Regions from separate parts of the Homo sapiens genome. Here regions 2 and 3 are each linked to region 1. The links are contacts of gene promoters, found by promoter capture Hi-C in blood cells and fetal thymus (Javierre and others, 2016). All regions are on one chromosome and are shown on one strand. Each heading gives the region's core, a stretch centred on a gene start or on the middle of the fragment in contact. The rest is flanking DNA. Distances are from core to core; before and after follow the strand shown.

Evidence for each region. Contacts are between HindIII fragments. The CHiCAGO score rates a contact against its expected background, and 5 or more counts as called.
Region 2: a fragment that was not itself captured here is called in contact with the fragment with the promoter of G0S2 in region 1 in 1 of 17 cell types (neutrophils); the score reaches 7.0 in neutrophils.
Region 3: a fragment that was not itself captured here is called in contact with the fragment with the promoter of G0S2 in region 1 in 1 of 17 cell types (neutrophils); the score reaches 5.2 in neutrophils.

What each region holds. Positions count from the first base shown.
Region 1 is chr1:209,672,818-209,677,838 of GRCh38, reverse strand. It overlaps G0S2 (G0/G1 switch 2), which reads right to left and starts at 2,427. Exons shown (of 2, transcript NM_015714.4): 1 at 2,290-2,427; 2 at 1,449-2,186. The coding sequence starts at 2,154. The coding sequence ends at 1,843. All of the region lies in intron 1 of HSD11B1-AS1 (HSD11B1 antisense RNA 1), which reads left to right. RefSeq lists enhancers at 1,467-2,315, 4,596-4,835. The HindIII fragment of the contact is 4,554 bases long and covers 1-2,864 here.
Region 2 is chr1:209,725,339-209,730,359 of GRCh38, reverse strand. All of the region lies in intron 4 of HSD11B1 (hydroxysteroid 11-beta dehydrogenase 1), which reads right to left. The region is part of intron 1 of HSD11B1-AS1 (HSD11B1 antisense RNA 1); the gene reads left to right. Among named protein-coding and RNA genes, the nearest start is that of HSD11B1-AS1, 15 kb to the left of the region's middle. The HindIII fragment of the contact is 5,210 bases long and covers 1-4,708 here.
Region 3 is chr1:209,706,300-209,711,320 of GRCh38, reverse strand. It overlaps HSD11B1 (hydroxysteroid 11-beta dehydrogenase 1), which reads right to left. Exons shown (of 6, transcript NM_005525.4): 3 at 4,501-4,612; 4 at 4,193-4,378. The region is part of intron 1 of HSD11B1-AS1 (HSD11B1 antisense RNA 1); the gene reads left to right. Among named protein-coding and RNA genes, the nearest start is that of HSD11B1, 4.0 kb to the right of the region's middle. The HindIII fragment of the contact is 7,813 bases long and covers 1-5,021 here.

The DNA.
Region 1 (5,021 bases), core at 1,178-3,677:
ATCAGGCAAGACGGCCAGCTGTGATGGAAGCACATCACAGAGGCACTGAAACCTGGCATAAGAGTTTTAGTCTCAGATGTTTTTGAGTTCAGGAGCAGCAGAATGAAAGATATTAAAGGAAGACAGTCTGACAAGGGATTGTTTAGGGTGAATGTGCTAGAAGGTGCAGGGGGTGGCTTGAGCGGTTGAGAGCCAGACAAGGTGGTAACTGAATGGGTAAAGGAGTAATTAATAAAAGAGGCATTTTGGAAGACCAGCAGGAAGGATAAAATTGAGTCAGTTCCTAGGAAGTTTCTTGGACATTGAAAGTGAGGCTCTGCCTTGGTATAGGGCTGAATTTCCCATTTTGGAAACTGGGAGAGCCATGGTGCCACTGACATTCTTTTCCTTTAAAACTCCAAATATGTTTCTTTTCCTTGATTAATCTTACCACATTCTGATTGCTTTTTTCCTTTGGGAGTGATAAGAATAGATTTCAGAAAGAGATGGCTTTTGATCAGGGCCAGGAACACTTGGTAGGAATTGAGTTGGCAGAAATGAAATGGAGATGTGTGTAGGGCATTGGACGAAGGAGAGAGTCTGAGCAGAGGCAATGGTGTGAGCCAGTGATATGTTTGGCAAAAATGCATAGCTGTTGATGAAAGGAGTAAAGTGTCAGTACCTGATTAGGACAGGTGACATGAAAAATGTGAGGAGACTAGCATCAAGGCCATGCCTCTGGCTCCTGGCTACTTCTTTAAAGTTTAAAATTTGTTTTGCTGAGCCCTATAGAGTCACTGAATTAGCTATTACTACAGATGAAGCTCTGTACACTGGAGGAGGAGGACTCAGATATGTAACAACCGGTTTTTTTCTCTTTCTAGCCCAGAGTTTCTTACTATGATCTGGATTCGTGGGGAGGAAGGCTGGGTAGAGCTAGACTCATCATCTGCTTTGGTGTTCTTGGGAGCTTATCTCTTTTCCTGCCAGGTAGATAGTTTTTCCTTTCTTTCCTTCCCTTCACCTCCAGACCTCCCTCCTTCATTTTCTTTCCTTCTCTCTGTCTGTCTGTCTAAAATATAGTTGGGAAGAAAAAGGTATCAGCCATGGGAACCTCTGGTGCACAGGTGTAAGGAACAAAGAGCTTTTCTGCCTTAGAATTAATCAGTTATCTCCTACTCACTGTAGCTCAGAAGTTGATCTACCTTTTGATGTTAAAATGCTAAATCTCACGGAAGTTATAAAATTTTCTCTCTTCCCACCCCTAACAAGAAGGAAAAACAAGTCCTCAACAGACTTATATGCATGTAGTAACTTATTACACAGTTCCTAGGTGTGAAGCAAGTGTCTGACCCTCAGGAAGCTGCTCCCTCTGCAGTGCTCAGGTAAGAACCCATCACCATCGCCCACCTGCTCACCCTCCCTGCTTCCCACCCCAGGACACCACACCTCTCAGGAATTACATGAGATATGGTATAAAAAGTTTTTTTATTTCAAAATGCAAAATGGTGGTCATTGTAATAATTAATAATAATAACATAAAAAGCATTTATCCTTCCTCCCTAGTGCAAAATGGTAGACGCATTTAGATAATTCACACAGTGTTGGAAATGTCATGACAATGCAGTGCTGCACAGCAGCAAAACTCAATCCCAAACTCCTTTGGTGGATGCTTGTGGTAGGTCAGTTCTAGATGTCAGCGGTTTCTCTGAAGTTAAGTCCAAATAAAAAACAGCACGTGCTCCTGCACTCTCCCAGCGGAGTCAGGCTCCTGTGCGCGCGCCCCCTCTGTCTCTCCATTCCTCTCTCGGTCTGTCTCTGTCTACTGCGTCTCCCTCCCACTCCGCTGGTCTCCCACAGTTCCTAGGAGGCGTGCTGCCGGTTGGACAGGGCCCGGCCGCCGAGGACCGTGTCCTGCTGCTTGCCTTTCTCCTGCAGGGCTTGCTTCTGGAGAGCCTGTCGCTCCAGGGCGGCCTGCAGCTCCGCCACGGCTGCCTCCTGGTCCCGCAGACGTCTGGCGGCCGTGAAGGGGCTGCACACAGTCTCCATCAGGCCGAGCACCACGCCGAAGAGGGCCAGCACGCTGCCCAGCACGTACAGCTTCACCATCTTCCCCTTGCGCTTCTGGGCCATCATCTCCTTGGCCAGGGGGATCAGCTCCTGGACCGTTTCCATCTCGGCTCTGGGCTCTCGGAGGCGGGAATGACCTGCAGGAGGAGCAGCAGGAGAGGGGCTTCAGCCACCAAAGAACGGCTCCCACCACCCCGCACCCAGCTAATCTTGGGGAGGGCTCATAGAAAGGCGGACTACCTTAGTGGCACGGCGCGAGCAGGAGGCAGCGCGAGCTGCAGTTGGCAGCGGTCAGCGCGTCCGTTGGTCCGACCGACCTCAGCGTTCTCCTCCTCTCGGCAGCTGCAGCTCTCCCAGTTGGAGACTCCGCCGCTGGCACCGCTTTAGCGTCCGGGGGCCGCTTATATCTTTTCTCTGAGACACGCCTCCTGGGCTCTCCGGCCCAGGCCAGCGCGGTCAGAGCCAGGGGAACTCGGAGGGGGAGGAAGAAGAGGAGGGGAAAAGGAGGGGGTGGAACCCGGCTGGGACCTGGCAGGAGGTGGCCACGCGCTGAGCACGCTCCGACTGTGTGAGCTAGGGGGCCCGGCGCGGGTGCCATCGCAGCGGGGCGCGTGGGAAGGCCAGTGTGCACGCGAAGGTCCCACTCCAGGCGAGCGCAGGGGAGGACCCGGAGCCCAGGGAGGTGTCCGCGGACATCTCTGACATGGCGGCAACCTTCTTACTGGTGTCAGCGGGTGCACAGCTTCCCTTGTCCAGGACAGCCTGACATTATAAATAATGAGGGAATTTGGGGGTTCCATCTAAAGAAGAAAGCTTTCATTTTTATTCGGAAGGGTTGTCACCTTCCCACGTGTGTGGCAATGGATCAGAGAGGAGAAGGCAAGGGGGAAGGATCTGGGTAACAGGACAGAACAGGTTACGCTTGGATAAAGCAATATGTGCTAATATTGTTTCTTTCCTGCCTGGTTGGTTTTATTTAGAGGTACATGCATGTATAACTAGAGTCAGTTGATAGAAAACTATTCATTGATGGTGCTTTTATGCACAGAGGTGTGTGTGTGTGTGTGTGTGTGTGTGTGAGAGAGAGAGAGAGAGAGAGAGAGAGAGAGAAAGAGAGAGAGATTAGTCTCTTTGCCTGCGAGCTGTTTCCTTATGTACTTCCGTGTATCAGGGAAGAGCCTTCAAATTCAAATTGTTCTCACTTCCACTTGAGAAGTGGAGTTGGGAGCTTGGGGGTAGGGGGTCAAGTATGGAAGGGGCTGTTGGTAGAAGTTCATCTGCCATTTTAGAATGGAAGTATTTCATGCTCTCCTCAATAATTCTCTGCCACCCTCCTGGGTTTGGGGGTACAACTTCACTGCTCCAGCTCAACTTCAGCTTTGAAGCAGTTTGTGGGCAGAAGGGCGTGTAGTAGACAGCTTAGGTAAGAATCCAGAGTGTGAGTACTCTTGGACGTGTGAAGATGTAGGATTGATTTTGACCAGGGTTAGCTGTAATCACCTGGGGCTGAGGGAGCGTTCTAGTTTGGCTTTGGTTATGGATATGCTAGAGTTAGCAAACTTGGGGAAAAAGAGAGGCAAATTGGCCAAAGGGTTAGCAAACTTGGGGAAAAGGAGAGGCAAATTGGCCAAAGGCCTTTAAGCAGAGAAAGGGAGGGGGCAGGGGAAAGAAGGGGAAATCAAACTGGCCAGAAAATTGCAAAGGTCAGTGATGCAATCTTGCAACAGCCTTTGCAGTCGGTCGGACTGAGCCCTGAAGGGCGGGTCGGGGGAAAAGGCTGTCTCAGGGATCAAATATTTTAGTTTTTGAATTGTTAACAGTAATCTTTCTTTGGGGGTCTGAAGCAATTTCTCAGATGATTCAGTTTAAAAAGGCAGCAATAACAACTACCCTTTGCCTTGACTATTAATAGTTCAGGCAAGGGCTTGTGTGTGGAGAATGGTCAAGGTTATCTAAATAGCTTATTTGAAATTCTATGTTTTAGAATTTAGTCTGAGTGAAGGTGACCAGGGGCCAAATAGAATTGATTATTCCTGGAGGACTGTGTTTCCTGCTTATTGTTCTTTTAACCTTGTCAGGCAGGAAAATTCTGTAACAAGGGTTCCTGCCAAGTTTAATATCAGTCTTGGCATTTTCTTTGAATCTTCCTTATAGTTTCAGAGCAACCTCTGATAACTGGCAGAAATGATTAGTGAGCTTTCCCAATATCTGTGAGGGTTCCAAACCCATTGACTTCTGGAAGAGCATGTGATGTGTGCCCTGATATAAGGGCTGTCACGTGGTTTCCATTCTGAAGGTGAGTCAGCCTAGCTTGGGACCCAAAATTCTGAAATTGACTGGTCCAGTAAGCATTTCCTGTGTTTCTGTAACTCAGAGACGCAAACCACACGTCTTCCTAGGTCAGAAGGCTGTAATTTACCTGGGGTTCCCCTTTCCTGTGATTTGCTGTGTTAGTGCACATCACCAGCTCAGTTCCTTTTTTTGATAATTTGACTTTGACCTCCAGGTTCCAGCAGCTATATTGGTAAGAGCTGGACAGAGGAGGGGCAGCAAGTGCCATGGACGGAGGTCACTGGTAGACTTGATCTTCCTAGTTTAGGTGGTAGCTGGGGCTGAGCAGGAGATGATGGGAGTAGAAGGCTAAGGAATCCAGTGTTAACTCATGTCTAGGAATTTCTGAGTGCAGCTCCTCTGTCTGGGTGGGAAAAGAGAACCTGGCTCCTAGGGTAGAAGGTGACTAGGTAGGGCTTGGAAACTAAACATATATTTTAGTGGGGCTGATGTCATTTTTAGGGAAGTAAAGCACTGTGTTGTGTCATGCATGCAGGTAAGATACAGGTTATAGCGATGATGGTCAAACCAAGCCATAGGGTGACCAACCATCTTATTTTGCTCAGGGTTGAGGGGTTCTCTGAAATGCAGGACTCCTGCTAAAACTGAGCACTAAAACTGAGATACTTCCAGGCAAACTG
Region 2 (5,021 bases), core at 854-3,353, 53 kb before region 1:
TAGAATTGTAGCAGTCAGTTTGTGAACTTTAGGAAAAGCTAATGTTAATTATAGTGGAACAGAAATGTGGAATGACCTTGGATTCTTGAAGACGTCATGTAAGTCCACCAAAAGCAGCCCTAAACTATTACCTGAGAAGAAGGAATCTCTCTTTGTTAAGTTGCAGTGAGGTTTTTGACTTCTTTCTTTTCAACTGGGATACCCTTTATTTCTTTCTCTTGTCTAATTGCTCTGGCTAGAACTTCCAGTACTACGTTGAATAAAAGTGGTGGAAGTTGGCATCATTGTCTTGGTCCAAATCTTGGTGGAAAGGCTTTCAATTTTGTCCAGTTCAGTAAGATATTAGCTATAGGTTTGTCATGTATGGCCTTTATGATGTTGAGGTATATCCCTTCTATACCCAATTTGTTGAGGGTTTTTATTATGAAGGGATATTGCATTTTACCAAATGCTTTTTCATCATCTACTGAAATGATTATATATTTTTGCCTTTGATTCTGTTGATGTGATGTATCACATTTATTGATTTGCTTATGTTGAACCATCCTTGCATCTTGAAGATGAATCCTACTTGATCATAATGAATGATCCTTTAAAATGTTGTTGAGCTCTGTTTGCTAGTATTTTGTTGAGGATTTTTGCATCTGTGTTCATCAGGGATATTGGCCTGTGGTTTTCTCTTTTTTGTTGTATCTTTAGTTTTGGTTTCAATGTTGGGACACATCCTTAAAAGGAGAAGCCAGTCTCTCCTTCCCAATCCTTTGTCCTTCTTGGTGTCTGAAGGTGGATGTAATGGCTATGGCTCCAGACCTATCTTGGACCATGAGGTAGAAGCCACGTGTTGAGGATGGCAAAACATTTAGATAGTTTAGATAGAAGGAAGGAACCTGGGTGACCATGGAGCTGCCATACTATACTGGCCCTATACTGCCTACCTTCAGACCTGATTTAAATTTTAACTTACTTGTGTGTGTGTGTGTGTGTGTGTGTGTGTGTTTTCCGAGGCAGAGTCTTGCTCTGTTGCCCAGGCTGGAGTGCAATGGCATGATCTCGGCTCACTGCAACTTTTGCCTCCCAAGTTCTAGTGATTCTTCTGCCTCAACCTCCCGAGTAGCTGGGATTACAGGTTTGAGCTACCAAACCTGGCTAATTTTTGTATTTTTAGTAGAAACAGGGTTTCACCATGTTGGCCAGGCTGGTCTTGAACTCCTGATCTCAAGTGATCCACCTGCCTCGGCCTCCCAAAGTATTGGGATTACAGGCATGAGCCACTATGCCTGGCCTAAATGCTAACTTATTGAATCCACTATTATTTTAGGTTTTCTGTATCTGAGAGCTGGACTTACTTCTTATTGATAGTTATCCTCACTTCTATGCAGCCCATGTGCCAAAAGAAAGCTGACATCATTCCTAACTGCAGGTATGAGCTTATGTAATCTATTTTATCCCATTCTTCTTACTCATGATTGATACAGGAATGGCCATGTGGCTCATTTTGGACCAATGAGATTTGAAGAAAATTTTGTTGGAGTGTCTCAAAAAGTTATTGTTTTTCTGGAAGAGTTTCTGAGAGTAGCAATCCTCTTTTTCTTCCAACACATTTTTTGTGCATTGATATGGGGGCTGGAATTGCTGCAGCTATCTCATTGTCAGCCTGAGGATGAAGCCACACATGGAAGAGAGCAGAGCCAAGAGAATCACGGGGACACTGAGCTTCAGCCAAGTCAACTGTGAAGCCTGCCCTACATCTGGACTTCCAGTTATGTCAATAATTTTCCTTATTGTTTGAGACAAAAATAGATCCACATTACTTATCAGAATAGCATAATAATTAAAAGTATGAGCTCTAGAGTCAGATGACCCAGGTGTGAATCCCAAGTATGCCAATTCTTAGCTGTAATATGTGGATAATAATATAACCAAGCTGAAGTAACCCATGTAATATACTTAGCACAAACTCTGGCACATAGAAAGCATTCAGAAAATGCTATTATTGTTAGCAGTATTAGTATTCAAATTGGTGAGAAAAGTATGAGCTATTCAAAAAATCATGTTGGGACAAATAGCTAGTTACTTGGAGAAAAAAGTGCCATTCTAATAAACAAATTCAAATTAGATCACAGAGTATATGTGGAAAGTAAAAAACTAAAATAAGCTATTGGTGAATTTCTAATCTCAAAGTTAGAGATACTTTTTAAAGCATGAAATTGGAGGCATATACTATGAAGGAAGACATAAATAGGTTGGAATATATAAAATGTGAAAAGCTACAGTGTACTAGAAATGCTTGCCATGGACTTCCTGCCCTCATCCCCTTCAAAGAGCCTTTATCTTTCTAGCCATGGAAGGTTGGCCCAGTTATCACGAATATGCACACTGGCTTGAACACACATCGTGGTCTCTCTTTCAATAAATTGAAATAAGTGACCAAAAGATTCTGATTGCTGCTGTTGGATTTTGAATGAAAAGGTCATGTAAGGTTGGGACTGGGGTAGCCATTTCAGCCATGGAGAGGGATAAGTAAGCGGAGACAAGTATTCTGCAAAAATAAGCAAGCATATGGAGCAAACACAATAACCTCTGAAATTGAGCTAAATAGGAACTAACATTTATTTAGCTCTTATGTGCCAGTGTAGAATCTAAAGGATAAATGCTCAAAGTTTCAAGGTTAATGAGTGGGAGAAGCAGGATTCAAACCAGGATTCAAATTTGACTCTAGTGGCCCACACTCTTGAACACTAGGTGGTACTTCCTCTACAGAAGGCACTGTTCTTTATATGAGTGTTTTCCAGGAGCCATGTGTTAAATCCAGTTCTTTCTGCATTGGTGAGGATTCTCTCTCTTTTGATAGTCGAGTCCAAAATAGGCAAAATTTATGAATAGCAGTATTATTTTCACTTCTAAGCTGACAGATGAGGATACCCATAAATAAACAGGGCTAGTCACTCCTAGTCCCTTTGTATTCATTTCCCTGGGCTGCCATAACAAATTACCACAAACTTGGTAGCGTAAGACTACAGAAATGTGTTCTCTTACAGAACTGGAATCCAGAAGTCCAAAACCAAGTTATCAGCACAGCCATGCTCCCCCCAAAACCTATAGCAGGGAATCCTTCTTTTTTCTCTTCTAGCTTCTAATGTCTGCTGGCAGTTGGAGCTGAGTTGTGCTGGCAACTCCAGTCTCTGCCTCCATCTTCACATCACTTTCTTCTCTTCTGTCTGTGTCTTTTACTCTTCATATAAGGTTACTTGTCATTGGATTCAGGGCCTCTCAGATAATCGGGAATGATTTCATCTTGAGATCTTAGTTACATCCTCAAGGACTTTCTATGTGTCCACTTAAGGTCACGTTCACAGGATCTAGGTGGATATATCTTTTGGGGGAGGACCACCATTCAGCCCACTACACACCCCTAGATGACAATAAAGATATTGACTATGACATTTAATGTGTTTGTCTAGGTGGCAACAGAGATACAGAAGCAAGATATCCTGCGAAGCCATAGTCTGAATTCCTAGAGCAGTTATTTTTATACCACTTATGGAGCTCATGCATCACATTGCCTATCCTTAGTTATGCCTCAGGTTATGCTCAAGGTACATAGAAGAATCCTAAATGGTTTTGTAGGAGAAGGAGGTAAGAGAAGAGAGAAAGTGAAAGCAGAAGAAAGGAGAGAAGTAGTGAAGGAGCCAGACATGTCAGAAGACCACCTGAAAAATTCATGACATGGATGCTTGTATGGTTTAAAAAAGTTTTTTTTTTGTTGTTGTTAGAAACAGGGTCTCACTCTGTCACCCACGCAGGCTGAAGTGCTAAAGCACAGTGTTGAGATCATAGCTCATCCTCCCACCCCAGCCTCCTGAGTTGCTGGGATTACAGATGCATGCCACTGTGCTTGGCTAATTTATTTTTAATTTTTTGTAGAGACAACGTCTTACTATGTTGCACAGGCTGGCCTAAAATCCCTGGCATCAAGTGATCCTCCTGCCTTGGCCTCCCAAAATACTGGGATTATAGGCATGAGCCACTGTGCCAAGCCTAAAAAATATTTTTGGTTTTTTTTTTTTTTTTTTTTTTTTTTTTACGGAGTCTCATTCTGTTGCCAGGTTGGAGTGCAGTGGCGCGATCTTGGCTCACTGCAACCTACGCCTCCCGGGTTCAAGTGATTCTCCTGCCTCAGCCTCCTGAGTAGCTGGGACTACAGGCATGTGCCACTATGCCTGGCTAATTTTTGTGTTTTTAGTAGAGATGGGGCTTTACTGTGTTGGCCAGGATGGTCTTGATCTCTTGACCTCGTGATCCGCCTGCTTTTAATTGGTGAAAAAAATGAACTATTATGCAAGCATATAAGGTTGGACAAAGACTACTGAAAAACGATTAGCCTTTATTGTGAAGACTATGCATGAGGTGCACTGTAACATAATAACATATGGCTACAGCTGTTGTTGACATCTCTCAGATTTTGTGACCTGCTATTGATCTGTAAATGTTTAAGCCAGTACTCAAATTCAATGCACGTAAGGACCATGTGCAAATAAGGACCATTAACCTGCAGATTTGAGCTCTGCCCCCCATTCTTCTAGTCTGTTTATGGAGTAGAGGACTGTGCTAAACTGTTCAGTAGGAAAGAGTGGCTTTATCCATAAATGATATTCATAGTGGGTTTTGAGAATGAGTGTGGGGTAGGAAAGGCATGGTGGCCTAAGCTTGTTGAACATCATCTAGGAACTCCTGAAAGAAATGGGGAGAGGTCTTTGGAAGAGGCTAAAGTCCCACAATGACAGCTGGGTGAGCAGTCACTGAATTATGAATTAAGTCTCTTTAAAACCCAAACTGGCATGACTAAGGAAAACATGTATTTCAAATCCAAACTGGATGTTTAGGTAAAGAATGATATTGGACTATCAGGAAACTCCACCTGGAGGAGGTAGGTTGTAAATTCTGCTTGATGAAAGGAAGTACATGAAGGACCAGGGAGGTGGAAGAATGGCTTGTACAAAAATTAGAGGCAGGAGTTAGAT
Region 3 (5,021 bases), core at 1,762-4,261, 33 kb before region 1:
GCACAGCTATACATTGAAACATTGGCCCACCTTTCAGGAAGGAGTGGGTATGCCAGAACTGAAGGCAGGGATGACATTAACATCTGTATATCCTTGTCTATGCAAAACATCATTATAGGTCTTCCAAGTCCTGTTAGTTGATATGTGTAGTTGAAAAACCTGTTTTTCTCCCCCCACTTCATAATGTTGAATTTTTGAAATAGATTTAGACCACACAGGCAGACCTCCACTGACAAATAGGTTAAGATCCAGCAAGTGACTTCATCTGTTGGTTTGAGTTTTCCCACAGAGCACTGTCTTATGAATGTTTGCCCCCGGCTAGTCAACTCAACTCAAAGTGCCTGAAAGACTGCACACGTACATTAAAAAACAGTATGAAACAATGCTGCGAATGAGTAAAACAGGAAAGGAATACATTTGAATAAGACTATCTATATATAGGGAAAGTTGATTTTTTAAGAAGATTTACTTGGAGAAAAGTGAATAGTTAACTGGAGACACTTATGGAGCTTCTCAAGAGAAGTCTGATTCAAAGGTTATTGACAAGGTTCTTTTATTCCTTCTGATCTATTTTCATTTTGAATATTTAAAGCAACTGAGTCTTTTGTGATGTCCAGTTTCACTTCAAAATATACCTTGCATTTTCCTTGATCCAGAAGGATTACTATCCCTACACGTATGCTTGCCGAGTATGTTTAACATTTGTGTTATTAGTAGTTATGAGTAGTATTAGTAGTATTTGGATTACCAATAAACCCAAAAAAGAGAAATGATGAGGAAGTTGGATTTCTAAAGTTAACTTACCAAAATATAGTAGATAAAGACAAAGAAGAAACATTGAAATGGCTCTGGTGAGTTCTGAAAAAGACTTCATAGGAGGTAGGGGGCTAAGTAGATTTTGAGAGGAGAAAGGAGCAGAGGAAGACAGGGTTTGTCCGTGATTCCTCTCAGGGGCATAAAGCAGGTGGAGAAATGGCCTTAGATGCTCAGTTCTAGCTGCCATGTGTGCAACTGATGACACACACCACAGTGATGGGATTCACCAAGCCCAGGAGCCCGAAAATGAAACCAACTTTACTTTTCTAATATTGAACCTAAGATGACCTATTTTGACTAATGTCAGATAAACTTTTTTCCAGATGTTTTCAAATGTTCTCTGCCCACTCCAGTGATTTTTTTTAGTCATATTCAAGTATTAATATTTCTACTTTGGTTTGTTTCACAAATGCTATTTAGGTATTCTCTTTCCATTCTTTCTCCTACCCCACTGTCCCCTGCACGCACTGCCGGATGGAAGGACTTTGTTTTTTGTGATGGACCTTGAATGTGAGAGGGAATGAGTCTTTTGTGTGTGTGTGTGTGTGTGTGTGTGTGTGTGTGTGTTTCACATGTGGGATGGCCTGGAGGGTATACTTTTTTCTAGTCTTATGTGTTTTTTAGCATGGGTGATGTGGGAGAGATTGCTAGTTGTTTATCAATATCAGTGTCTTTTACACAAATAGAACTTCTGATTTTTAGTTGGACACATGTTCCCTTTGAATAAAGATAACAATTGCAGCCAGCTGTGGCAGAAGAAAAGTGTACACCTTCCAGGTGGTATCCTTCTTTTTTCATTTTCTTGAGTTAGAATTCAGACATGCCAATGAGCCATCTTGGACATGCAGGTGTAAACAAGCACTCTAGGAATGGTGGTTCTGAGATAGAAGGCCTCCTGGACAGCCTCATAGGACAGAACTACCATATCAGCCCTGGACTGCCTTTCCAGGGTGTTTTGTGTGAGATAAATAAATTTAGATTTGCTTAAGCCATTGTAAATTCGGGTCTTCGTTACAGTAGCTGAACTTACATCCTAACTAGCAAGTGGTGGAAGGAGAGGAGGCTAATCAATGTAACGGGATGTTACACATACAAGAAACTTGCTCAATAGGTGCCAAGAAAAGGTGGTGAATAGTGGATAGATGTGGACTACAAGGAGGTTCCCAGAAGCAGCAGTATTGTCTCTGTTAATGCTACAGAGGTAACCAAGCCTTTAAGGAACATATTAGAAGTATAGTATTCCCATGTAATGCAATACCCAGAAATGCATTGTGGAGAAAAAACAATTCTTTATCACTGAAACTCAATAAACAACTTAAGGTATTCCCTAGAAGAAATGATTAAAACTCCATCCCAGTACTGTTTGGCTGACCTTAAGATCAACTTGATGTTTAGCATCCCATATTTATAGAGTTTAGATTTTAAAGAGGAAGGATTAATGAACATGTTTACTGACTGATTAAAAGAATACATCATAAAGCAGAGAATATTCTTCAGTTGCGGCAAGACAGCAATGTGTCTGTACTTTGCAAGTTCATAGACAGGTTTCAAGGCAAAAAAGCTGGAATCTTTTGGCTACACAAGCAATAAACACCAAAGATACTCATCCAGCTAGATTTCCTACCTCCCAGAGTTCATGGAAATTACCAAGTGTCATTCAATAAGTGTAGGAGATATGGGGAAACAGAGATTATCAGAATTTCATCACGTCCTTGGGCTCAACAGTAATTCTTAGTCCTTCTGAGCACATTTAGATCATGGGTACATTCTAGAAAGTTACATTCGTCAAAGGTGAAATACATCCTTTGCCTAGAGTGAATGTATTATTTAATCAGCTGAAATCATTAAAGCCACCTACATCATGACTGATGTGAGGATTTTGTCCAATGCCCTGGGATGGATTGGGGATGTGCCCAGCACCCTCCCACTCAGTATGCATCTGGAAGCTCTCCCTTTCTTCCAGCCCAGAGAGAGTCTGTGTCTGGGGAGGGGTGGGGAGTGTGTGTTGTCTGGGAAGCACCGGGATGCATATCAATCACACTGTTTGGCGGGTAGCACAGACACACTGCCCCTTTATCCAATCACTATGCAGGCCGTCCCTGGGCCAGAAAGGAGAACTCTTTACGATACAGATGGTGCTATTAGTTTCAATAAGAATGTTTGTGAAGTGCTTAACAGTTTACAGAGTCCTCTAGGTTATTTGTTTTTATTTTGCCAGGAACAACATTTAGATGGCGGATTTTGATCCTGGTGTTTGCACTTTCCAGCCACATCCTTCTAACTGACTAATCAACAAAGATGTGTGGAACTTGTCTCCTGGATCTATGATAAAAATGGGCCTAGAAATGTCCCAAGCTGGGAACTCACTGGTTTTTTACTGGTGATGGCTTCTGATGCTACCACCATCCAGAACACCAGGGACCTCTCTTGATCCCACAGATATCTTTTCATGACCATTTCTCTGGACACATTTCCTCCCTACCCAGCTGGTTGTTTAAATTGATCTTTTCATGTTAACATGTTCAAATTTTAGAGAATACACCCACTATAGGCAGGTCTGTTCATCTTTTTTTTTTTTCTTGTTGTTCATTTTATTTAGCTTTAGCTTAGCCCACTTATCAGACACCTGTGTGTTGTTAAAACAGTTAACTTCTCAGTTGTACCTTCACATTTACATAACTTCACCAACCTTTTGGTCATGGAGGAAGCAAAGTCCTTTTTATCCATTGTGACTAGGTCTCTCACTTAGGACCAGGACAAGCTGTACCTCCAGCAGCCTCTCAAGTCCCTTCAACCTTCCTTTGTAGAAAACAATTCAGGCTTCCAATAGGCACTCTGAACTACTGCTTTTTCTCTGCTACTTAAAAGAATTTTGTAGCCCATCTACCTTGACCAATCCTTCATTTTTTATGGTGTCACTAGTTTGTAACAGTGTCTCCTTTACTCAGGATGCGTGCCTCTCATTGAGTCCACAAATCACCCCCCTACAAGTCTCTTATCAGTACATCTGCCCATTCATGCATATGAGTAAGCTGTTAATCAGCTTTTGTTTAATATTACTATGAACATTTCAACTTCAAGTTAATATTGTAACTAGGTCTCTCCCTTAGGACCAGGACAGGCTGTACCTCCAGCAGCCCCTCAAGTCCCTTTGACCTTACTTTGTAGAAAACAATTCAGTCTTCCAATGAGCACTCAGAGCTACTGCTTTTTCTCTGTTACTTAAAAGAATTTTGTAGCCCACTTACCTTGACCAATCCCTCATTACTTCTCTGCATGGAAACTGATAAAAATTTATGTCTACTTCAGAGCCTGGCATCATCCCTGGCATTTTTTTTTTTCTTCTACCTTCCACATATGTCCCTGTCCCACTTACCAGCCAGAGAGGAGACGACAACAATGCTTCCATTGCTCTGCTTCAGCATGGGCAAGGCAGCTACAGTCAGGACCACGTAACTGAGGAAGTTGACTTCCATGCTTTTGCGCACATGGTGAATATCATCATGAAAAAGATTCAAAGAAGTGTTGGTGATGTGGTTGAGAATGAGCATGTCTAGTCCTCCTGCAAGAGATGGCTATATTAAGAAATCATCTGGGGTTGATACCTTTCCCATTCTCCTCCCAAAAGCTCTTGGTGACCCCAAGGGCAAAGTTCAGAGGAGGAGGTAAGAGAAACAGCCTCACCCATGAGCTTTCCTGCTTGGGCAACAAATTGCTCTGCGAAGGTCATGTCTTCCATGGTGCCAGCAATGTAGTGTGCTGAGGCTGCTCCAAGCTCCAGGCAGTGGGATACCACCTGCAGTGATACAGCAGAAATGGCATCAGTCTTAGCTGCAGATTTTTGGGGGGTAGTCTCTGAAGTAACGGGGGGCTTAAATGAGAGATTGCTCACAGCCCTGTTTAGGTAAGAAATGGTAAGTATGTTTGTGTGTGTGTTGCCTAATATAACCCTCATGATCATCGTCCTCTGTCTGAAATATTTTCTGGAACTTGGTGGGGTTCAAATGGATAAATCATCCCAGTGCTGGGGTTTAAGTTCATGATTTATGCTCATGGCTTCTGTGAATAGGCATTTCTGAGGGCATTATGAGTGTAGATGCTGGTTACTATGTGGGTAGCTCTAGGTTTGTGAATGTTTGTACATCCTTGGGTTTGTGAGTCCATGAGAGGGCATGTGTCTGGGAGTCTGCATGGGTATGAGGATA